Regions from separate parts of the Homo sapiens genome. Here all the other regions are linked to region 1. Evidence: promoter capture Hi-C in 16 types of primary human blood cells and fetal thymus (Javierre and others, 2016). All regions are on one chromosome and are shown on one strand. The core of a region is centred on a gene start or on the middle of the fragment in contact, and the rest is flanking DNA. Distances in the headings are between cores, read along the strand shown. Region 1 holds the start of CEP78 (centrosomal protein 78). Region 2 overlaps VPS13A (vacuolar protein sorting 13 homolog A). Region 3 overlaps GNA14 (G protein subunit alpha 14). Region 4 overlaps GNA14 (G protein subunit alpha 14). Region 5 has its middle 26 kb from the start of GNA14.

Evidence for each region. Contacts are between HindIII fragments. The CHiCAGO score rates a contact against its expected background, and 5 or more counts as called.
Region 2: a contact is called between a fragment that was not itself captured here and the fragment with the promoter of CEP78 in region 1, in 5 of 17 cell types (M2 macrophages, monocytes, total CD4 T cells and 2 more). The highest score is 7.2, in M2 macrophages.
Region 3: a contact is called between a fragment that was not itself captured here and the fragment with the promoter of CEP78 in region 1, in 4 of 17 cell types (fetal thymus, naive CD4 T cells, total CD4 T cells and 1 more). The highest score is 6.5, in fetal thymus.
Region 4: a fragment that was not itself captured here is called in contact with the fragment with the promoter of CEP78 in region 1 in 13 of 17 cell types (naive CD4 T cells, total CD4 T cells, total B cells and 10 more); the score reaches 10.6 in naive CD4 T cells.
Region 5: a contact is called between a fragment that was not itself captured here and the fragment with the promoter of CEP78 in region 1, in 1 of 17 cell types (monocytes). The highest score is 5.3, in monocytes.

Annotation. Positions count from the first base shown.
Region 1 is chr9:78,233,339-78,237,830 of GRCh38, forward strand. It overlaps CEP78 (centrosomal protein 78), which reads left to right and starts at 2,737. Exons shown (of 17, transcript NM_001330691.3): 1 at 2,737-3,265. The coding sequence starts at 3,013. RefSeq lists an enhancer at 2,466-3,135 and a silencer at 2,761-3,130. The HindIII fragment of the contact is 10,697 bases long and covers 1-4,492 here.
Region 2 is chr9:77,416,473-77,420,964 of GRCh38, forward strand. VPS13A (vacuolar protein sorting 13 homolog A) reads left to right here. Exons shown (of 72, transcript NM_033305.3): 72 at 1-4,492. Among named protein-coding and RNA genes, the nearest start is that of GNA14-AS1, 29 kb to the right of the region's middle. The HindIII fragment of the contact is 1,204 bases long and covers 1,749-2,952 here.
Region 3 is chr9:77,432,937-77,437,428 of GRCh38, forward strand. GNA14 (G protein subunit alpha 14) reads right to left here. Exons shown (of 7, transcript NM_004297.4): 3 at 1,432-1,586. Among named protein-coding and RNA genes, the nearest start is that of GNA14-AS1, 12 kb to the right of the region's middle. The HindIII fragment of the contact is 6,132 bases long and covers 1-4,492 here.
Region 4 is chr9:77,450,037-77,454,528 of GRCh38, forward strand. All of the region lies in intron 2 of GNA14 (G protein subunit alpha 14), which reads right to left. The region is part of intron 1 of GNA14-AS1 (GNA14 antisense RNA 1); the gene reads left to right. Among named protein-coding and RNA genes, the nearest start is that of GNA14-AS1, 4.6 kb to the left of the region's middle. The HindIII fragment of the contact is 2,676 bases long and covers 1,285-3,960 here.
Region 5 is chr9:77,671,719-77,676,210 of GRCh38, forward strand. No RefSeq gene overlaps it. Among named protein-coding and RNA genes, the nearest start is that of GNA14, 26 kb to the left of the region's middle. The HindIII fragment of the contact is 1,152 bases long and covers 1,772-2,923 here.

The DNA of each region.
Region 1 (4,492 bases), core at 1,487-3,986:
TGTCAGAGGATCCCAGAGGTGCCACAGAGAGACAGTTTTCATTCAGTGTTCAGGGAAGTGTGTGGGTGAACCCACCAGATGCTGAAAGGAGAACTGGAGCCATTCTTTTTTTGAAGCAACTATTAAGTCATAATTTAACTGAAGCAGAGAAGAGATTATCAGGCAAGCCTTGAAAGAAATCTTGCCACACTAAAAATAAGTAAGCACAGGAAACATAAATTTTAAATGAATATGTTAAATGATTATTAATATGAGGAAGACTTCTCTGAGCTGCATTCATAGGCAGTGGCTACAGGGTGCTGGCAATAGCTTGCGGGGATAATAGGGAAGAATGTTCCTACAATTAGTCATTAGTTAGCACTTTCTCTGTGCTAACACTGTGCTAGGCATAGGGAATGTAAGCATGAATGAGACATGGTTCTTGCCTTCAAAGGGCTTTCAGACTCTGGAAGGAAAACCATCTAAAAAGATGTTTATCATTGGATGTTCTAAGTGTTATGCTACAGGGATGTCAGGGAGCACAGCAGTGAGGTGCTAAACAAGCAAGGGAGGAGAGATGAGGGTTAGAGAGAAACAGGCTTTCTAGGGAAGGTGCCCCAAACCAAGGCTGGGAAAAGAATGGAAGTTAGCCGACTAAATAAAGGAGCAGCCTATGAAAAGACCCAGACAGCAACAATAGGACATCAGAAAGTTCAAGCAGTTCTGTGTATCTAGAGAAGACATGCCAGGAAGAATGTAGCAAGGAGAGAGACAACAGAGATAGTCAAATTATGAAGGAGCTTGTATGTCAAGCTACGTGACATAGATCTGACACTGAGGGCAGTGAGAAATCTTGGCTTTCTAGGGGGCAATTTAATGGATGAAGAGATCTATCTGTGTTAGAAGTAATCTGCCTAGAGTGGGGAAGTTAAGGCTGAGCAGAAGACAAGAACACCCAGAGAAACTGTAAAATGTCAGAAGGGGTGAAAGCTGAGGGTAGAAACCTGACGAACAGCAATATTTAGAGTGGATATGCAAGAGAAGCCAAAGAATGAGACTGAGAAGAAGAAATTCGAGAGGTAAAGAAAAAGAAATCAGGTGGCTTCATGGGAAACAGGGAGGAGGGAGCTTTAAAAAGGTAATGGACACTACATTAATTGATGCTGGAGACTAGAAAGAAAATGGATAGAGCAACAAAGAAATCGTAAAGTTGGAAACAATTTAAATTACCATCAACAGAAAAACAGACACATTACTGTATGTTTCTACATGGAACTCCCATATAACAACAGGGAAAATAAATGAATATCTCTATATGTCAACACGGATGGACCTAGTAAAGGTAACGATAAGTAAAGTAGGAAAAGAAAATATAGAATGTTATATACTGCTTACTTACATATGTAGCAGAAATATAAAGACATACATTGCAACGATGAATACCAAGTTCAGAAGAGCAGTTATCTCAGAGTCAGAGAGTAGTCGTGATTGGGAAGGTGGTTACACAAAGCTCTTCAACAGGAATGGTAATGTTTCATTTATTAAGCTGGTTTATGAATATACAAGCGTTTACTATATTAAGATTTGAGCATGTCGCACATAAAAATAATTGGTGACCATATCTCCGGAATTTTAGAGACGCCTGCATATGTGTGTTGGAAGTAAGTTGGAGTATCCGGAATGCAGTGGGTGGAACAGGAATGCAATAAACACAATGTCTAAGGCTCTACCGGAGGACTATCATTGCTCTAGCAATTGCATACCAATAGAAGGAGAGGTCAATTATCTGGATTCTTCCACTTAGCTTCCACTTAACTTCCCCGTTCCTCAGTTTCCCCTTTTGTAAAGTAGAATATAATAGTATATTCCTTGAGATGTTAGGAGAATGAAATGATTTCATACTTAAACATTGCTTAAAATAATCCCGAGGACATTATTTCAAATAAGTACTAGTTACAAGGGAGTTAGCCAACATCATCGTCAGTACAAAACAAACTGATTCACAGCAAACACAATAAAGTCCTGAATTCATGAAACACTCTTCAATTTGCCAGGAACCGTGTGAGATATGCAGAAACTACAGAAATTAAGGCTTATTTGTAGATATTAACACAGACATAAAAGATTTAATGACCGCAGTTCACGTTCAATCAGCCGTTCCCACATCCCTTGAGTGCAGTCTCTGTGCTGGCTGGACACTGCAAGCACAGACACATTCCTCAGATGTTTAGACTTTTTTTAAAAGTGCGTTGTTACATCCACATTTCACTTTTTATTTTCTTTCTTTTTTTGAGACGGAGTTTCGCTCTTGTCGCCCAGGCTGGAGTGCAATGGCAAGATCTCGGCTCACTGCAGCCTCCGCCTCCCGGGTTCTAGCGATTTTCCTTCCTCAGCTGGGATTACAGGCGAGTAGCTGGGATTACAGGCGCCCGCCACCATGCCCGGCTAATGTTTGTATTTTTAATTGAGACGGGGTTTCGCCATGTTGGCCAGGCTGGTCTCGAACTCCTGACCCCAGGTGATCCGCTCGCCCCCGCCTCACACAGTGCTGGGATTACAGGCGTGGGCCACCGCGCCCGACCACACATTTCACTTTTATTCGGATCGATCAGTAAACTCTTTCGCAAACCCTCAAACTCTCCCGACCACTATCTCAGGTAGCAGCGAACTCACCCGTCCTCAGGAGGCGGGACCTGCGTGCCGACGCACAGCGAGCACGTTGACGTCTTGGCGCACCGTTCCACGGCACCGCCCACCGGCTTGAATCCCGGCGCCTCAGAGGACTATGAGGCGGGCGCCAACTGCTTGGGCCGCAGGGCGGGAGGCAGCGCGGGAGTGGGGCGTTGAGGGGCCGGCCTAGCTTGGGGCTCTGGCCTTGCGTCTTCCGACCGAATCACCGCTCCTGAGCCCGGTGCGGGGCTGCCGCTATCGCCTGGCCGTGGGTGCCGGAGCGGCCGGGTTGCGACTCAGCGTTCTTGGGTGGGCGCGGGCGGCGTCTCCGCGGCGGGCATCCCCCGAGGCCGCCCTCGGGCCATGATCGACTCCGTGAAGCTGCGCCGCGACAGCGCGGCGGACTTCTTCTCCCACTACGAGTACCTGTGCGCGCTGCAGAACTCGGTGCCGCTGCCCGCCGTGCGCGCCTGTCTCCGGGAGGGCGTGCTGGATTTCAACGCCGACCGCCTCCGCGGGGTGGACTGGGCGCCTCTGCTGAGCACCCTCAAGATCAATAAAGACCTGCCCTTGGTCTCCATCAAGAGCTTCTTCCAGCCCTGGCTGGGGGACACAGGTTTGTAGTTCCCGCCTCCAGGGCCCCTCAGTCGGTGCGGCGAAGTGGGTTTTTAGGTGAGTGGTGTCCATTGTCGGGGTATGTGTGCAATAGAAGGGGTGTGCGGCCTGGACACTCACGAGCTAGGTGAGTGGCTTAAGGTCTCTAGGGCTTCAGTGTGCTCATCCGTAACATGGGCTTAATAACGAGACCCAGGTTATGTGCGCCTTCGCAAGGATTCCCTGCGCTGCTGATGCCTGCAGAGCTCTTAGCACAGTTTGGGACATCATTAAACATTTGACAGATGTTACCTATTTTATTGAATGACTTTGATTTGCCTGATAGAGAACTAAGCAGGTAGGAAATTAATACATGTCAGCCTTTGTCTTTTTTTTTTTTTTTTTTTTTTTTTTTTTGAGACACTGTTTCACTCTGTCGCCCAGGCTGGAATGCAGTGGCAAGATCTCGGCTCACTGCAACCTCCGCCTCCCGGGTTCAAGTGATTCTCCTGCCTCAACCTCCCGAGTAGCTGGGATTACAGGCGCGCGCCACCATGCCCGGCTAATTTTTGTATTTTTAGTAGAGATGGGGTTTCACCATGTTAGCCAGGCTGGTCTCGAACTCCTGACCTCAGGTGATCCGCCCGCTTCGGCCTTCCAAAGTGCTGGGATTACAGGCATGAGCCACCGCGCCCGGCCTGTCTTCATTTTTTAAGGTGTATATAAGAAGTTTGTAAAGTGCTTTACAAATACAAGCCATTTGTAAATGTATAGTGGTATAATTAGGGATCCAGACTCTCTGATTATTCGGAAAATATGTTAGGTCAACTATGATATATGACAAAATGCTGTTATTCCTTTGAGCACTTAGCATTTTCTACATAATGGAGGCAGCTTCCTATAGACGCTAGCTAGGTAACAGGAAGGAACAGTTTGTGCAAAAGTTTTGGAAATAGGAGAGAGTATGCAAGCTGAGTTACAGGACTGGAATTTAGGTTTGAGAAAGAGCAGAGAGAGTTGAGGCTGGAAACCTTGTGGGGGCCAAACAGGGAGGGTCCTCGTTTGTCCTGTCATAGAGTTGGATGTTTATCCTGAAGGTTTTGGGAAACCGCTGTAGGATGATGAGATGGAATTTCCGTAGGAGCTCAGTCTAGCCTCCATATGGAAGACAAATTAAAATTGGAAGGATGGTGAATTGTAATCTAATGGCCCAAACTAAGGTATAGAAAAGAAGGGCTGGGGCCGGGCA
Region 2 (4,492 bases), core at 1,101-3,600, 820 kb before region 1:
GAACTTTGGTGGTGGTTTCTTCAGAATCATGAAGTTCTTTTGCCAGATAAATATTTTGATATTATTTTCCTTTTTAATATAAAGGATAGGTTTGAATTGTACTTAAAATGCATAGCATTATTAAAAACAATCTTTTAAAATATAATTTATAACATAGATTGAAGCCTCCCCTTAAGAAACCTTAAAGAAATAAGTATCCTACTCAAAAAAGGAAGTCTGTTTCAGAACTTTAGGGCCTTTGAAATATTTCCTCAAGCCTATTTCATGAGATCTACTTGGTTTACCCAAGTCATGTTTTTAATAGACTGCTAATATCAAAGGAGAATTTTTAAAGCCTTAACAATGCCTACTTTCCATTCACTGTTAACATGGAATAAACACAATTCCCAACATCTTAGATAGTGTATTATGCTTCCAACAGACAGTCCCTCTCATATAAAGTTTATGTACCCTAAAATCTAACCCAATAACCTGTCCCGTTGCCAATAGATTGAGAATTTCTGGTTTGCTTACTCTACAGTTATTCAAATGAGAGTCACGCTTTTAAATTTACAGCTCATCACAGAAATCATCAGCTATACATTAGTAAAAATAAGGACATGAGGTTTTCTTTCTTGGTTTTTGTCCAAGATCTTTGCACCTTAATATTAATGGACTGTTTCAGGTAAAAGAGAATGAATGTATGATTGTGAACTGTGAAGAGAATGATGCAGGATCCTATTTAGTTACTGAATAATACAGAGTATTCAATGCATGTTGTATGTGCCACCAAGTTACTATTAACTGTTTTTGGAATTGAAGACTCTGTATAGTCAATAGTTGTGAAATTCTTCTCAGGCTCCTTAAACCCTCGCTTTGTTGTAAAAGCTAAAATAAACAGCATGCTATATTGTAATTGTATTTCTTGCTGACCAAATCTACTAAATGCTATTGATTTCTCTCTGATTACTAAAACACATTGTTTATTCTCAGTAGTTTCCCCCAAAATGCTTTTTTCTTTGCTGAACTTAAATTGAATCAAACCACAAGTTTAAAATCACATGAAAGTGTGTTTCCATGTTGACCTTTGTTTAAAAAAAAAAAAAAGTGCTTATTTTCTCTGTCGCTAAGCTCCTCCAGTTTTGCTTTTGTCAGAATTAAACTTAACAGTAGAGGTAGTCAGAAAGCTTGCATCAGACTGTCCTCATCCAAAACGAAATACTTCATTACCCAATGTTATGATTTCACCATTCTCAGAAAAATTACAGTCCCCTGCCTCCCTGGGTGTAGTGTCGTGAAGTAGAAAAGCCTTACATAAATAGTAAACATAGAAATTCTTCTGGTGCCCTCTGGCAGCCAGCAGGAGTGGGTCTTGTGACTAATCCACATGGAAAGGATAGTGCCTGTCTTTCCTGTTCCCTTGCCATAAGAACCGTGAAATCTCTCCTTTCCCTGCCACTCGTTTACTCATCACCTCCTCCCATCACTTCCTTGTCTCTAGACTAGAGGGACCCACAGTTTTAAGAGCTACATCATATCATTTGTTGTTTTAGAAGATTGTCTTCATCTAAACAAAAACACTAAGAAATCAGTAGATCACTAGATAATGAGTCAGTGTTTTTAGCATCACATTTTACAATTTACAGTTTTTGTTTGATTCTGTAGCCCATTTTTCTTGAAGGTTAGAATAAGAATCTTCTTGTATTTGAAAACCATCTGCCCTAAATTACATTTAACTACAAGAAATGGCTCTCTGCTGGAGAAATTTAAGCTTGTCTTAGTTGTTTGGTAGTGGCTATGGAATGAGAGGTGTTGAGTCTTGTGCCCCTTCCATGTATTATTTGCTAACTAACTATATTACTAGGCCCTTAATTCCAGCACAGCATGTCTTCTGGTCTATGATAATTGTGTGAGGACTAAGGCAGAGTGCCTGTTCCCTGCCAACTCTCCACCAGAAAATCATAATCAGAAAGAGTGACTTTGATTTCTGGTACTTGTGATCAAAAGCAGCTTGTGATTTCTTCACATTTGCAAAATACTCTCTGAGCCAAAAGGCACATACAGTTCTCCAGTGTCTTCCCTTTTAGAGTATACATATTTGCTGCTTTTCCTTTAGTGTTCACAAAAATCCCAAGGTCAGTTTAGTGTGGCTGAGTTGTTGTTATCTGGACCCTAAACAATCATTACCACCTGTAGACAGTTCTTACCTACCCCTCTCCTCCACAATCCTAGTCCATTTGGAGGCAACTATCCTGTGGCCTCCAAGTGAATAAATCTTTCTTACACTTACTTACGTGATATTTTCTATCATAATTATCTCTCTCATTTCTTCCAATAGTAATAGCGGTAATATTGTTCCATTGAATATCTATGCACCTAGCTCATCTCTTAGAAACATCCCACATAGTAGCATCGTATTACTCTCTGGTAAAAAGAAAGATTAAATTAAAAGGACTCTACACAGTGCTGAATTTCCTGCACCTAAATTATTCAGTTATCACTTGCCAGTATTAGTTGATCCTTCAGGCTATGCCAAGTGCCCCCTCATGTAGGCCTCTGTATTAAAAAGATTGGGACAAAATACTTGATTAGTTTGCCTGTAGAAGCTCAAAGTGTGTACCAAATACATTGACAGTGGATGCTTTCATGGCTCAGCCAACACAGTTCAGAGGAATCTTTTCGGCTTCCAGGGCATTGCTTGTTACCTTTTGTCAGGATCAACCCAAATCCTCAGGGATGCTGTTTTTCCACACTGTAAGTCCTAACTCATTAGTGGGTCATGAAATCAACTTAACAGCTCAAGACCAGTATATTTTAAACGTGAAATAATAAAAAATAGAGGAACAATAGAGCATATAAAATGGTTAAGTATTGGTTCCTGAAATACTGTTTCAGCTAAATATTCTATTTACTGTGTATACTGGGTCACAATATAAAGTGTTTCCTGTTATGAAATGCAATTTAAAAAAAGAAAGCTTGAAAGACTGCTGCAGGAGGCACCGGCCATCCAGTGATTGTTGGAAGAGTCTGGATTGTGTGGAGCCTGACCTTAGATAAGGAGCAGCAGATCCACAACTCAGGAAGTCTAGAGATGCTTAGCACTTCTTCTTTTGAGTGAGAAGATGGAATCACTCTTGGTTTCTAAAATATTTTTCTTCTCTGCTGTGTATCGGGCAACCTCACATGATTCAGTGGGACCAGAAAAAGCATAGAAAAATTAGATCCACACACAGCACCCAAAAAAGGCCATAGTCTTTTGTTTACCTAGATGTATTTTAACCTCTTTACCACTAAGCATTTTACTATAATAGAACTGGGGACATACATTGTCCTTTTGAGTCCGTTGAATCTGCACCATCTACCTTTTGGCTGATTCACCATACAGGTGGCAAAGGCCTTTAAAAATGGGGAGCTAATACGTAGGGCACATTCTGGTAGGGCCAAAATATTCAGTGTCTGGGGGGTGCTATGCAAATATCAATGACTTTTTACTAAAAACAGTGGATTTCCTCATTTCTTTAAGATCCAAGTAGAAAATGTAAATAACTTACATTCTGTATGCAGGACTCAATACAGACTTAGTCAATCTGATTTTTTTTGGTGCTTTTCAGTATAGCGCAACTCTAAAAGGAAACCCATTCACCCTCCTTAGTCCTTTGAAGTATACTTTTGAAATTATACCTTATTGTTAATGGCAACCTAATCAAGCTAGGATTTGTCGGTTAAAATTTTGATTCTTGTAATCTGTACTGTCAATTTTTGGCCACTCTGGCTGTTACAGCAAACTTTTCTCCCACTGTCATAATTGGTCTAAAGTAGTATTTGTTTCAGGACTATCCAAAAAGCAAGGCCAGCACATTGAGAAGATGCAGAATCCTACTCTATTACAAACCTCACTCATGTTTCTTTTATTGAAACCTTTTTCTACTTTATATTTCCTCTTTTGTAAATTTTTCCATGTCATTTAAAAAATTTTTTACTTTAGAATTACAGATTAGTTCTTTTTTTAAAGCATTATGGCATTTTCAAAAAAAAAATTATTTTGGTTACCCAAAAAGCTATACAAGAAATATAACTTCAATTTTTTAGGTTGATATGGGTATATTTTTAAAGTTTTTATTACTTTATACAAATACAAATTAATTTATATTATAGTTTAACACCTGCTATGATGATAGATATCACACTGCTATGATAGAAAATCCCTGTCTGTCATTGAACTATTCATTTAGTGTTACTCTGATATGTTAATAATGTATTCCTTCTAATGAAGTCCTTGTAACAAGAAACCCTGTGAGATTGGTATAATGAGATATCAAATAATCAGAAGTATAATTAAAATAGAACATGTTGGAAAATCCCAACATTTCCTGTTATGCCGTCATACCTCCGGTGTTCAGTTTGTTACTCAAAAGTTCCCAGTTCTTAGGCTGAAAAACATTCAAGTAAAAATGTAGCATAGATTACACTGAAATATTTTCAGTATCAATGATTTAATATCCACACAAACTAT
Region 3 (4,492 bases), core at 760-3,259, 800 kb before region 1:
TTCTTCCACCTCTCTATGCTGATCTAACACCTCAGTGGGGTTTCTGTATTTTCCTGCCTTGATGCTTTTTTGCATCTAAACATTCCTGTACTTAGATTGGTTGTGCCAACCTGGATTAATGACATTCAATTCTCAGCCCGGGATAAACACCAAAGGAAGCCCATTGAAACCACAGGAGGTGACACTTCTGGCTTTCTTTCCTGCCCAATGCCTTGTCCAGCTCAATGCCTGCTCAGAGGGTGACAGTGGCACCCAAAGGGAAGGAGGTACGTCTGGGGAAGGGATTTCTGAGCCCTCAGAGGATGGAAGATGATACGGGACAGGTGTGAAAGAGCTGAGCTGCAGAAGCAGGAGTTATTGCCACTTTAAGAAGGACCCATATCAAACTATTTACCCGGTGACCAGACTGAGGAGGCATTGCCCCGGGATATTATTATTTATTTATTTATTTACATTTTCTTTTTTTTTGAGACAGAGTCTCACTCTGTCACTCAGGCTGTACTGCAGGAGTGTAATCATGGCTCATTGCAACCTCAACCTCCTAGGCTCAAGACATCCTCCCGCCTCAGCCTCCCGAGCAGCTGCCCAGCTAATTTTTGTAATTTTTGCAGAGACGAGGTCTTGCTCTGCTGCCCAGGCTAGTCTCGAATTCCTGGTTTCAAGCGATCCTCCCACCTCTGCCTCCCAAGTCCCTGGGATTACAGATGTGAACAGGAAATGCCCAAGAAAGTGAAAATCTGTCATCTCTATGGGACAGTTTGCATGCTGGGACATCTAAATAGAAATCTTTTTACCTTCAAGGATTAATGAATTAAAAATTGAGCTGTATGGATCCAAAATACAGTGTGTAGGCCTTCGCAGGCAGCCAATAAACAAAGGATTGAGCTTCCTGTGTGTGCTGCGAGCGCAGCCTCCTATCTGTGCCACTAGAGGACAGCACCAGATCAGCAGCTGATGGGTCCACGGCCCCGCTGCTCTAAACTTGACTTTAGATTTTAGCGCAATTGGACCTGCTGTCTTCTGATGGGGAAACCAGAAAGGCAGAGGGATATAGAGAGGAGGAAAGTAGAAGCCAAAAGCAAGGGTATTTCTTGTTTAAATCAGATAATTTCAGCACTCCTAAGGAGATCAGTCCCACTTAAGGGACCTCAGATTTGATTTGAGTCTCTCATTGAAAACGACAGGCTTAGAACACAGCAAGAGCAGGCGGGTGTCGGCAGGAAGAGAGGTCTGCGATCCACAGAGTGACCGAGGGCTTTAGGAGGTGGTGAGAGATGGCACTAAGAGGTCAGGAGGGATATGGGAAAGCAAAGGCAAGTAGCGCTGCCACTGTGCACCGCATTTCAGCAGCGTTCAGCGAGAAACTTCTTTGAAGTGTGGCCGAGCTTGCCTGAAAGCACCGCGGGCGGCCAGGGTGGGCTCTGTACTCACTATTTGGCAGAGTCCGACAGCTGGTACTCCCTCCTCCTGTCGTAACACTCCTGGATGCCTGGATCTTGCCAGAGCTGCTTGATGGCCTCCACCTGCTCCCTGGAGAGCATGGAGACCTTGTCCACTTCCACTTCTCTGATTATCTGGGCATTTTCCTACTCAAAGGAAAGAGAACCTTGCATCAGGCAAAGGAAAGGAAGCCAACCCATTGGCAATGTCGGTACAAGTCTTGCCCTGGTCTGTGGATTTGGAGAGCTCTCACTAGGCATGGGGCGTGGTGGGCACCCTCCCAGGGGCCGCTCACAGCCAAGACACCCACTGCAGCCATGCTGAGTGGAGATGAGGTGGCTGCTTAGCTCCGTGGAGAGAGCCACCAGCAGCCCAAGACCTGCAGCTTCTGTGCCCAGCCATGTCCTGGGCCAGTTTCGCCAGCATTCAACAACACCCAGTGGTGAATAAAGAGTCACTGGAGCTTTCATCCTACCAGCAAACTTTACTTCTTCATTAACATATGACTCATTTGAGTATCTGCATAGCCAATGAGGCCATTTAAAAATGGCACACCAAGGTTTGGGTGGTAGAAACTGGTCCACCTGGTACAGGCAATAAGGAGGCGCCTTGTCTTTAGAGAAGTGAAACACAATAACAACTTATCATCAGTCTGGGATTTTGTTCTTTCATTTAAAAAAAAAAAAAAAAAAAAAACACTGGCCAGCTGCGGTGGTTCATGCCTGTAATCCCAGCACTTTGGGAGGCCGAGGCGGGCCGATCACAAGGTCAAAAGTTCAAGACCAGCCTGGCCAACATGGTGAAACCCCATCTCTACTAAAAACACAAAAATTAGCTGGGCATGGCGGCGCGTGCCTGTAATCCCAGCTACTCAGGAGGCTGAGGCAGGAGAATCGCTTGAACCCAGAAGGTGGAGGTTGCAGTGAGCCGAGATGGTGCCAAGGCACTCCAGCCTGGGTGACAGAGCGAGACTCTGTCTCCAAAAAAAAAAATATATTAATAATAATTGACTTTACTTTTTAGAGCAGTTTTAGCTTGCCAGCAAAATTGTAGGGCAAGTACAGCGCATTCTCACACAGTCTGCTTTTCATTTTCTTGCATCACTGATACAACTCTTTCCCACTGGGAGCCTCCCTCCCAATGCACTACTCTCCCCACACCACTGATTATTATATTACCATATTTATTATTACTATGATTATTAAATAATTATTGCTCTATTACTACAGTAATTAAGGCCATTATTACTGTAATTATTACTATTACAGCGGTTACCATTTATTGGCTATGTACTATGTGCCAAGGCCTCTACATACATTATCTCATTTAATCAATGGGAGGCTAGCATGAGCCAGAAATCTTTCCAAACCTCAGAAAATGGAAAAGATAAGGTTGGCCTGCAGCCACAACATTTCCCCGTGTTGGCCCCAGAGACTCAGCATCCTTTCCTTGGCTGCAAGTTGTAGCAGACAAGTGAATCCTGGCAAGAGAAGCAGGACCCCAGGCTCTTATTCCCCCTCCCATATTTCTGCATCCCACAGCAGTTACATCACCAAGCAGGGCTGGCTACAGCAGCAGCTGTGAGTCAGCAAACCATCTGCTTGGTAGCTGGGATCTCAAGTGTAGACGGTACCTCCTGAAAAGTCACTTTTATTGTGCGTTGTTCATCCTTATAATTATCCAACAGCAAGCCAGAGAAAAGGAGGATCTTACACATCCACCTGGCTCATCCTAACCAAGGACTGTGAATGAATCGATGTGACTTTTCCCCACACCTGTCAGGAAAGTGAATGTAAACTCTTCCTGGAGACTGTAGGACCTTCAGGCAGGTAGGATCTCAAACAAGGTCCAGGCAGGATGGATTACTGGAAAGTGCGCTGGCCTGGGAATCAGGACCCTGAGTTCTAAACAGTGTAGTTGGGACTTTTAAGGACCCCAACAAGTTACCTGCCTCAGTGTCCTCATTTGTAAAACGAGCCATGATTTCCAGGGGTACCTGAATTATAAAGTGTTACTTATATGTAAGTAGAATTAGCCTTTACTATTGTAGCAGATGTCTAATAAGTATTTCTTGTTTGCAAAAACAGGACACATCAGTAGCCTCTAAACCCTGACTTCTAATCCCACCACTGGCATGCTGCATGTCACGGACCCTATTCTTGGCTGGCGAGAATGATGGATGGAGAACCTGGACAGTGTTTATCCAGTGTGGTGCAGAACAGCTCTCTCCCATGTCCTCCCCTCCTCTCGCCACGCTCTTGCTTTCCCAAATAGGTCAGTTGTGCTGAGCTCTACTCTCTCAATGTAAAATGTCTGTTTTCCTCTCTGTCTTCATGGCAGGCCAGGAAATGTCATGAGGGCAGAACCAATGTCTTATTTGTTCTTATATCCCAGAACCTAGTGCAGTGCCTTCTATTGCAAATAATAGGTGTCTTCTATGGATAGGCGCATTCAGTAAACATCTGTGGTGCATGTAAAATCCACCTACCTAACAAGACAGAAAATTATGACAAAATAAGAGTGAAAGCATACTAGGGTGGGAAGACGGAAGCCCGTGCAGGTCACAGTGGGAGCACACACGGAGCAGGTCAGGGCCTCCTCTCAGAGGAGGAGATGCTCAGGCAACGCTTGGCCAATCTGTAATTCCAACTTGGGCCCTGGTGGCCCTCAGCATCCTTGCTTCTTGTGGGCATGCCTCTTTTGCTGCTATGCTAAGTTTCACTGTCAAAATCAGGTTAACGGCTGAGCTTTAGTGCTGCGACAATCATCAGGGCTGTAACAAATGCATTTCTATCTCTCCTTCTCACAAACAAAATGTAGGAATGAACTTCAGGGTGAATGAAATGTGAGCGGAAATCACTTGTCTCTTTTGAAAATAAACATTACGGCCAAGTGCAGTGGCTCACGCCTGTAATCCCAGCACTTTGGGAGGCCGAGGGAGGCGGATCAACTGAGGCCAGGAGTTTAAGACCAGCATGTCCAACATGGTGAAACCCTGTCTCTACCAAAAACATTAAAAATTAGCTGGGTTTGGTGGTGCATGCCTGTCATC
Region 4 (4,492 bases), core at 1,373-3,872, 780 kb before region 1:
GGACATTTGGAATTCTGGGATTCCGTGGGCTTATGCATCCTCAGGGCATTTGTCCCAGGGCTGCAGGATTCTGGAGCTTTGGCATTCTGGTTGCCGGCTGGTGGGACTAAATAAATTGCCCTTTTCTGTCTCCACTCTGAATTCTTCATGGTCATGGTCTTGACTCTTGATTTACAAAATGGGATACACCAAAGCAAGATGAGGGGGCTGGCTCTGCCTGTGACTACACACTTCTGTTCCCTGGGGCTTGTGGTCAGCCCCAGCAAAACATCAAGTGCTCAGCCTTACCCATGCACAGGAGGCTCTTAATAAAGGGCAGAGACCGTAATCCTCATCTTCATCCATCTCCCTCTGACCTTCTTAAGTGCCTGGGGGCTTACATGCCGCATCAAAGGAATGAAGAAATCTTGCCGATTCTCATCATTCATGATTCCATATTTGTGAATTCACCTACTTGCTAAAAGCTACTTGTCACCTCCAAATCAAACTGACGGCACTTTCACAGTCATTCTCCAACGTGTACAGAGCAGCAAAAAAAATCTAAGTCACCTGATGCAAATGTTTCCATCTGAGATCGAACAAGCTCTGGTGCTGTTAAAATTATTCTTCCTATGGTCTATCTAGTGGCCCGTGTAATTTTCATCCTTTTTTTGGTGGCGATTTTGCTAAGATAGCACTTGATATGGTTTGGCTGTGTCCTCACCCTAATCACATCTTGAACTGTAGCTCCCTTAATCCCCATGTGTCGTGGGAGGGAACTGATGGGAAGTAATTGAATCATGGGGGTGGGTTTTTCCCGTGCTGTTCTCTTGATAGTGAATAAGGCTCACAAGATCTGACGGTTTTATAAAGGGCATTTCCCCTGCACACACTGTCTTGCCTGCTGCCATGTAAGACATGCCTTTGCTCCTTCTTCCCCTTCCACCATGATTGTGAGGCCTCCCCAGCCACATGGAACTGTGAGTCCATTAAACCTCTCTCCTCTATAAATTACCCAGTCTTGGGTTTGTCCTTATAGCAGCATGAGAACAGACTAATACGGCATCTGAGTATAGTGTGACCATAAGAATGTGACGGCCCTATGGGGAACATACGTGTGTCAGACTAGCTTCCTTCAAGAGGACTCAAGATATAATCTCAGCTCATCCCCTAGTAGGGAGCTTTCGATGAATTTATCTGACCCTAAGCCCTCAGTTTCCTCATTGGTAAAATGAGGAGGGGAGGTGGGGGTGGTCTTTTCAACATTAGCAGTCTCTAGCTAAAGAACGTATTTTTTAATTATAAAGCTTCATAAATATTTGTTGTTGTGGACATTCTTTTTTCAAAGTATAAAGGCAAACACAGCCACTGTAGTCACTCTTTTTAGAGTGCTCTAAAGCAATCATTGTAACTATACTTAGCTGAGGATGTAAAGGAATGCCACTATTGATAAAGAGGTCTGTTCCTGGGATCCAGGGTGAGGCTATTCTAGGATGGCCCTGAAAATCTTGAGGATGACCAATGTGTAGGTCCGTCTCTCTTCTGTGAATCACACATCCTCAAAATAACCAGGAAGACAGCCTCAAAGGCAGTTATCCCCAAAAGATAATATTGCCCCAAACTTTTTTCTCCCTTGTCACACACATGTTCATTAGTCACCCTGGGACTCTGGACCACAGGTTTTTCCAGCTTGGGTGGACAAGCCAACGTGCAGCAAAGCTGCTCAGCCACTCTCCCAAGCAAGAACCCGAGATTCTTTGTTGTAATCAGGTGCATAAGGAAACCTGTTGGGGTCAGTGCAAAGTGTCTCTCTCCTCAAGCATCTCAAAGTTACACAGACATTTAACCAAGTCTCCTATTTCCTGTCAAAAAATCCCAACCGAGCAACCAGACGAGCACAGGTAGGTGGTGAGTGACAGATATTTGTGCAAAAATTAGATGTGGTCTCGTGAAGTCCCCACAGCCCAGGAACATTTCACTCAATCTAGTGATGTCCATGCTCACTATGTGCTGGTCTCACACCGCATCCCAGGGGAAGCGGATATAACTCCACAGAGGCTGACTTGAGAGACACGATCCAGTAAGAGGCTGGACTGCTTGATCCAGAACCCCGTAGAAATACACTGGTCCTGTCAGCAGGTCTGAGATAGACGTGTAGCCAAGTGACAAGCTCCAGTACAGCCTTAGGATTCACCAAAGTCACCCCTACTCATGTGACGTGTGAGGCAGACAGATTTGCCTTTAAGTAGCAACAAAGAATATCTGCACTCCAGATCTTGGTGGAGAATTTAGTCTCTCTGCCGCCTAACTCTTACCAAATTTTGAAACAAATGGTATCTATGGATGATTTTCCTGAAGTACATTCAGTCCAGCGATGCCTTTATAAGCATTTTCCAGAGTGGTACATTAAACAAAACACTACTCTACAAAACGTGGTACATATCCTTAAAAAAAAGTTCCTTGATCAAATTAGTTTAGGACAAAGTCTGAAAAAGTTACCCAAGTTTTCTAGTTAACTGCAGAACTGCACACAAGTGTGTGTGTGTGTGTGTGTGTATGTGCATGTGTATGTGTGTGTGTGGTGTGTATGTGTATGTGTGTGTATGTATATGTGTGCGGTGTGTGTGTTTGTGTTTGTGTGTGTGTCTGTGTGGTACATGTACCCCTTAGGGCAGGGATCTGCTGTGGTCTGAAAGTTTGTGTCTCTCCAAAATCCATACGTTGAACTCTCATCCCCAACGTGGAGGTATTAAGGAGTGGGGCTTCTGAGTGGGGACTAGGTCATGAAGGTGGAGTCCTCATGAATGACTTTGTGCCCTTTTAAAAGAGGTCTGAGCTGGGCACATTGGTTCATGCCTGTAAGCCCAAGGACACAGGAGGCTGAGGCAGGAGGACTGCTTGACGCCAGGAGTTCAAGACCAGCCTGGACAACATAGCGACATTCCCTCATCCCTAAAAACAAATAAACAAACAAGTAACCAGCCGGGTGGTGTGTGTACCTGCAGTCCCAGCTACTTGAGAGGCTGAGGCAGGAGGATGGCGTCAGCCCAAGAGTTCGAGGTTACAGTGAGCCATGATTGCACCACTGCACTCTAGCCTGGGTGACAGAGCAAGACCCTGTTCCTGAAAAAATAAAAAATAAAAATAAAAAGAGGCCTGAGGGAGCTTGTGTGTCCCTTCCGCCATGCGAAGACACCAAGAAGATGCCATCTCTGAGGAGCAGACTCTCACCAGACAGCACATCTGCTAGTGCCTTCATCTTAGACTTCTGCAGACTTCCCAATCCCCAGAACTGTGAGCAGTAAACGCTACTCTTTATAAATTACCCAGCCTAAGGTATTCTGTTATAGCAGCCTGAATAGACTAAGACAGATATTAGTCTCTTTTCTTCATTAATGTACTCCCACGTGCCTAGAATGGTGGTTCGCACATCAATATTCTTTGAATGAATAAATGAATCTTACCTGAAAATCTTTACATTCAATAAATACTGACAAAATACAATGAAGTCAAGGAGCAATATGCATTAACAAAATGCAACAGTTCATGAAAATGTGTAACTATGCGCACCAAACTCTTAACCATTCAGTCACTTAGAAAGATAATCCACATGTGTATGGCTTAAAAACAACAGCAAGAACAGCCCTGAAGCTACAACAGGATTCCTTCAACAAATGCAGCATTTAGTGAGAATTTATGGAACTGAGCAAACCTGAGCAATCATAAGCCTGCAGCCACCACAACAAATACAGCAACATGGAGTGGGGAGGCCCGAACACAGCACAGAGCTTTTGATATGCTAGTTTTATTATGAGTTTCCAAAGAGCAGCTTTACGATACACTACTTGCCAAATACATATAGTTCAATGGCAACTGGGGATCCATTTTCTCACAGGATAAAACTGCTCAGACTCCAGCCGATTCCATAGCTTGTAAAAGTCAGAAGTCTTGCTGCAGTTTCTGCTAATGCTCAGAAGTGAAAGCTTCATGATTCAGTATCTCTTCTCATTTGCACAGGCACAAAGCTCAGGCTCCTCGCCCGCTCCGTGCAGCATCCGATCTCTTCAAAATCTTGGATTTCACAAGGAAGAACCGCATTGCCCAGCCTTCCACTACCTGCGTAGTTCCACCCCACACCCCCGGCTCCCCTCTTTCTACTTCTCCTGAAGCTTTGGATTTGGTGGTTCCAAAGTCTTCACCGTTTCTTACAAAAGTGACTTCCCCTTTCCTCTAACACTAAGACATAAAGGAGGAAGTCTCAGATTCTACCCCTAAACTTGTCAGTCTGATCTACTTCTGTGAACCCCCTTTGTTTTTGGGTGGCCCATTATCCATTCTCTCTCCTTCGGGTTACAACTGAGCTTGGGAGGATAACCTTTCGCTCGCTGTGTGCATCTTGGCACACCTGTTAATTCAGGTCTCCTGCTCTCCTGTGGCTAAGTGCCAGGCCACTCAGACTTTGCTGAGCTGTTGAACCTTGAGGGGAGTTATCTGATAATAGTGGGGACGGGGA
Region 5 (4,492 bases), core at 1,098-3,597, 560 kb before region 1:
CAGGGGAGTCACACACTTGTGGTGCCCTCCACCCTCAGGAACCAGGGAATGAACCCTGGAGGTGGACAGGAAAGTTGAAGGCATGGGTGTTTGAAGCATGGTCTTTATCCCATTGACCCTATGACTTCTCGCTCTCAGTGAGGAAGGTAGCTAGAGTGGGACCCAGGTAATAGGCATGGTTTAAGGGTGGTTCTGATTTTCCCACACTTAAAAAAAAAAAAGTAATCCCTTGATTGCACTCTCCTTGGTTAATCCATGTGAGAGCAATCTGTTTCCCATTGGAAACTTGAGTGAGACAATTGTGCTCTGGCACACTTGACCCCAAGAATCCTGACTGACATATGAGGATTTTCCAGAACTCTTCAGATTTGTGATCTCCTTTGATTCCCTCAACACCTAAGGCTGGTGGCAGAAGGCTGGACCAGGTCTCCTGCATCCCTACTAGGTGCACAGCCTCAAAGAGGGGCCCATGCAGTGCAACCACAGGCTTTGCTGTAGAAACACGTGTCAGGCCTTGGCCAGAGTCAAGGATACTCTCAGGGCTGGAAGGAGCTTTTTCATGATGGAGCCGAATACTGAGAATGGGATCCAGAGAAAATAAATGAACAAGGAAAAGCTGTTATGCATTAATGTAATCAAACTGCATGATTTATTTGCTTAATGGCTGCTGAAAAGTCGTCTGGCATTTAACCATTCCCTTCTCAAATCCTGTGTGAATCCTTTAAAATTCAACCTATGAGATAATCTAACAGAGAATCCTTTTGATTTCCACTTTGTATTTTTCATGTAAAAATAAGTTGAGGAGTAGGTGTAGCACCAGTCACAAAAGACCACATATCGTATGATTCCATTTACATGAAAAGTCCAGAATCAGCAAATCCAGAGGGACAGAAAGTAGATTCATGCTTGCCAGGGGCTGGGGGTGGGAGAATGAGAAATGACATTTAATAGATATGGGTTTCTTTGGGGAGTGATCAAATTTTCTAAGATTAGATTATGGTGATGGTTGTACAACTCTGTAAATGCTAAGTGCAGTAAATGCTAAAAACAACTGAACTGTGCACTTTCAGCAAGTAAATTTTATGCTATGTAAATGATACCTCAACAAAACTCTTCTAAAAAACACAAAGCATAGGACTGTTCTAAAAAACCATTACTGTTCTCTATTTTGTAACTCTACCTTCTCATGTTAAGAGAAAACACAGATAACTCTTATTTAATATCAACAATGTGCCAGTCGTGACACTAACATCTTTACATGCATTATATTACAGTCAGCCCTCTGTATCTAAGGGTTCCACGTTGATGGATTCAATCCATTGCAGATGGAAATTATTTGAAAAATAAATAACAATACAACAATAAAAGTAATAGAAATAAAAGAAAAAACAGAATAACAACTATTTAGAGAGAATTTACATTGTATTAGGGGTTATAAATAATCTAGAGATGATTTGAAAGTATACAAGAGAATGCCCATAGGTGATATGAAAATACTACACCATTTTATATCAGGGACTCGGGCATCTATAGATCTTGGTATCCATGGGGTGGGGGTGGGGGAGCAGTCCTAGAACCAAACTCTTAAGGACACCGAAGGAGAACTGTATTTAATTCTCCCAACAATACTGTTATATAAGTGTTATTAATTATCTCATTCTACAGATGAAGAAACTGAGGCTCCAAGGCATTATAGCACTTGGTCAACATTACACAGCTACCTAGGAGGTTGTATTGCTGGGGATCAAATTCAGACCTATCTGATCCCAAAAGCTTGGGCTTAAAAACATGGCTAATTCTTTGACAATGTGTTAGTTATTGTATGTACAGTAAAGACTGCTTACTGAAAATAGAAATGTCTTGTTTTCTGAAATACATGTCTTGGTGAAGCAGTTATTCGTTGTGTCTGCTGCAACTACTTTATCAAAGGCTTTCCTTGTGGGTAACTAGAGACTAAGGGGATGGAATGATAAAACCCCCTTCCCCACCCCAATGCCTACCAGTTTTTAAAACTCAGTTCACTTGTCTAGTGTTTTCATCTGGAAGCCAGACTGCAGACTTGTGGGTCACCTGAGCTCATGGCTCTGGGTACCCAGTCTGGATAAAATTGTGTTCTAAGGCCTTTTTTAATTGAACACTTTGTCCAGCCTCTGCCTACATTGAAGACCCTCAGAGTTTTCTCCAGTACTTCAAAGACTAGCTGAATTGGAAATCACTGGAAAGTTTCCCCTGCAGTGTACATTTAAATGTACTGGTTCTTTTTTTTTTTTCTTTCATAATGGAGACTTGGATTTACAGAATGTAACAGATACTATTTGGCAGAAAGTAAAAACTGTCTTAACTCTCCCCATATTTGGCAATACAGTTCTCTCTCTCTCTCTCTCTCTCTCTCAGCAGATTTCCAATTACACTTCATAGACGGATCTCAGCTGGTCCTTTTTTCCTGTTACATAAACTTGACAATGACTATTTGGACTATGTTTCAACCATTCTTTCTTGAACTTCAACCACCAAACACATTTAAGGAGTGAAACCCCCTGCCAAAATGCACCAGAAACTCTTTAACCCTATATAGTTATTTGCCAGGGTTGAGAAACCCACTTGACCCTTTCAGCATCAGCATTTTCATTCCTCTGTGTGTTGATTTTCAGACATTTCGGTTTTTTGAGGACAAGCTCGTTTCCTGTGCATGCCTTCAGTCTTTCCTTGCCTCACTGCTGCCAGCAATAGCAATGTAGCATCCTCTGAGAGAGAGTGAGCTGAGCCAGGAGAAAAAATGGACTTGAACAGAGAAATTCAGGAGCTATCTTTTTTTTAAAGTATCTACCTTAGTGACCCAGAAGAGGGCAGAAAGACCCAGCCAGTGTCCACCAATAGGGAAGCCTCTCAGATGCAAGCCACTCACTAGTTACTGAATAAAGAAAGCTTATGGCCGGGCGTGGTGGCTCACGCCTATAATCTCAGCACTTTGGGAGGCTAAGGCGGGTGGATCACTTGAGGTCAGGAGTTCGAGACCAGCCTGACCAACATGGTGAAGCCCTGTCTCTACTAAAAATACAAAATTAGCCGGGCGTGGTGGCGCACCCCTGTAGTTCCAGCTACTGGGGAGGCTGAGGCTGGAGAATGGCTTGAACCCGGGAGGTGGAGGTTGCAGTGAGCCGAGATCACGCCATTGCACTCCAGCCTGGGCAACAAGAGGGAAACTCTGTCTCAAAAATAAATAATAAAAAAAAAAGTTTGTTGCAGCATAGTTGCTCAGCCAAAGATTTGAGGAGTGGCATCGGGGTGGGCGGGGGGTAGGGGAGGATGGGAGCTAGGAAGTTTGAAATATTTGATATCATTGAATAACAGCGCTCTCCGCCACTTGATGACAATCAGAAACTATTCAGTATAGTGGATCTTTCCAGAGAGACCATTCATACTTACACTTCATTACTTACTCTCTAGTATGTTTCCATGTGAGCATGACTTCTTGAAAACACTATAGATACTTAACATGTACCGTGTTGTTTATCCCCTGGGATTACATGTTTCAATGAGCTAAACGAAAGCTGCTTTCGATGTAGATAAATAGGCATAAGAATATAGACCCATGGCTCTTTCGGGAGTGAAATTATTTGCAAATCGACAGTGGAGGGATTCTGAGAACAGAGTGTTTCAAACAAACTTTCCACATGATTATGTTTCCATATCTTCTCCTGGCACTGAACAAACATTTTAAATTGCCACTTGTTCACTGAGGTTGACAATAAATCCAAACAGGAATATGTTTAATATCCATATAGAATTTTCATACGAATAGCTTTTCATTGTCTGCTATTCCCATAAAGCCAAGCAAATTGGCATTTTAATATTGTTTTCTTTTCTATCATAGAAACTAAAACAAGTACCAAATAAAAGATACCAGATGATAAATATAGGAAACTAGTGGAATTACAGAATGATACAGTGCTTTTTATTTTAGAGGTGAAGAAACTGCAACTAAGAAAAGTGAGGTGATTTGCCTAAGGTCGAAAAAATCAAGACTGGCCACAGAAGGGGGCATCATATTTCATTTGATTGTGTGATTGATCACCAAATTCCCACATGGAGTGAACGTGGCCTTTTTTTAAATGCCACCTAAAGTGGATCAACACTCAAGCCAATCAATACAGGCATCCACGCAGGGCCCTTGGATAATGAAGGAAGGAAATTTTGTTCAATGTTCACAGCAAGAAGTGGGGACCAAGAAAGAAGCCTTGGCAGCACCCTCAGAGTGGCAGAGAAGGAGTAAGGAGCAGGTCAGTAGATGTCAACAAGGTCTCTGAGATCCCACATATTGGCTGTCACTTAGTCTCAAAAGATGAGTTGGTAGAAAATATAAAAAGGTCAAAGAAGCATTTAAGTTAGTGGTTCTCAACCTTGGCAGCACTTTTAAAATTATTTTGGGAAGATTTAAAACACCTGAATGACCAGGCCACAGCCCAGGCTGATTTCCTCAGTGTGTTTTCAA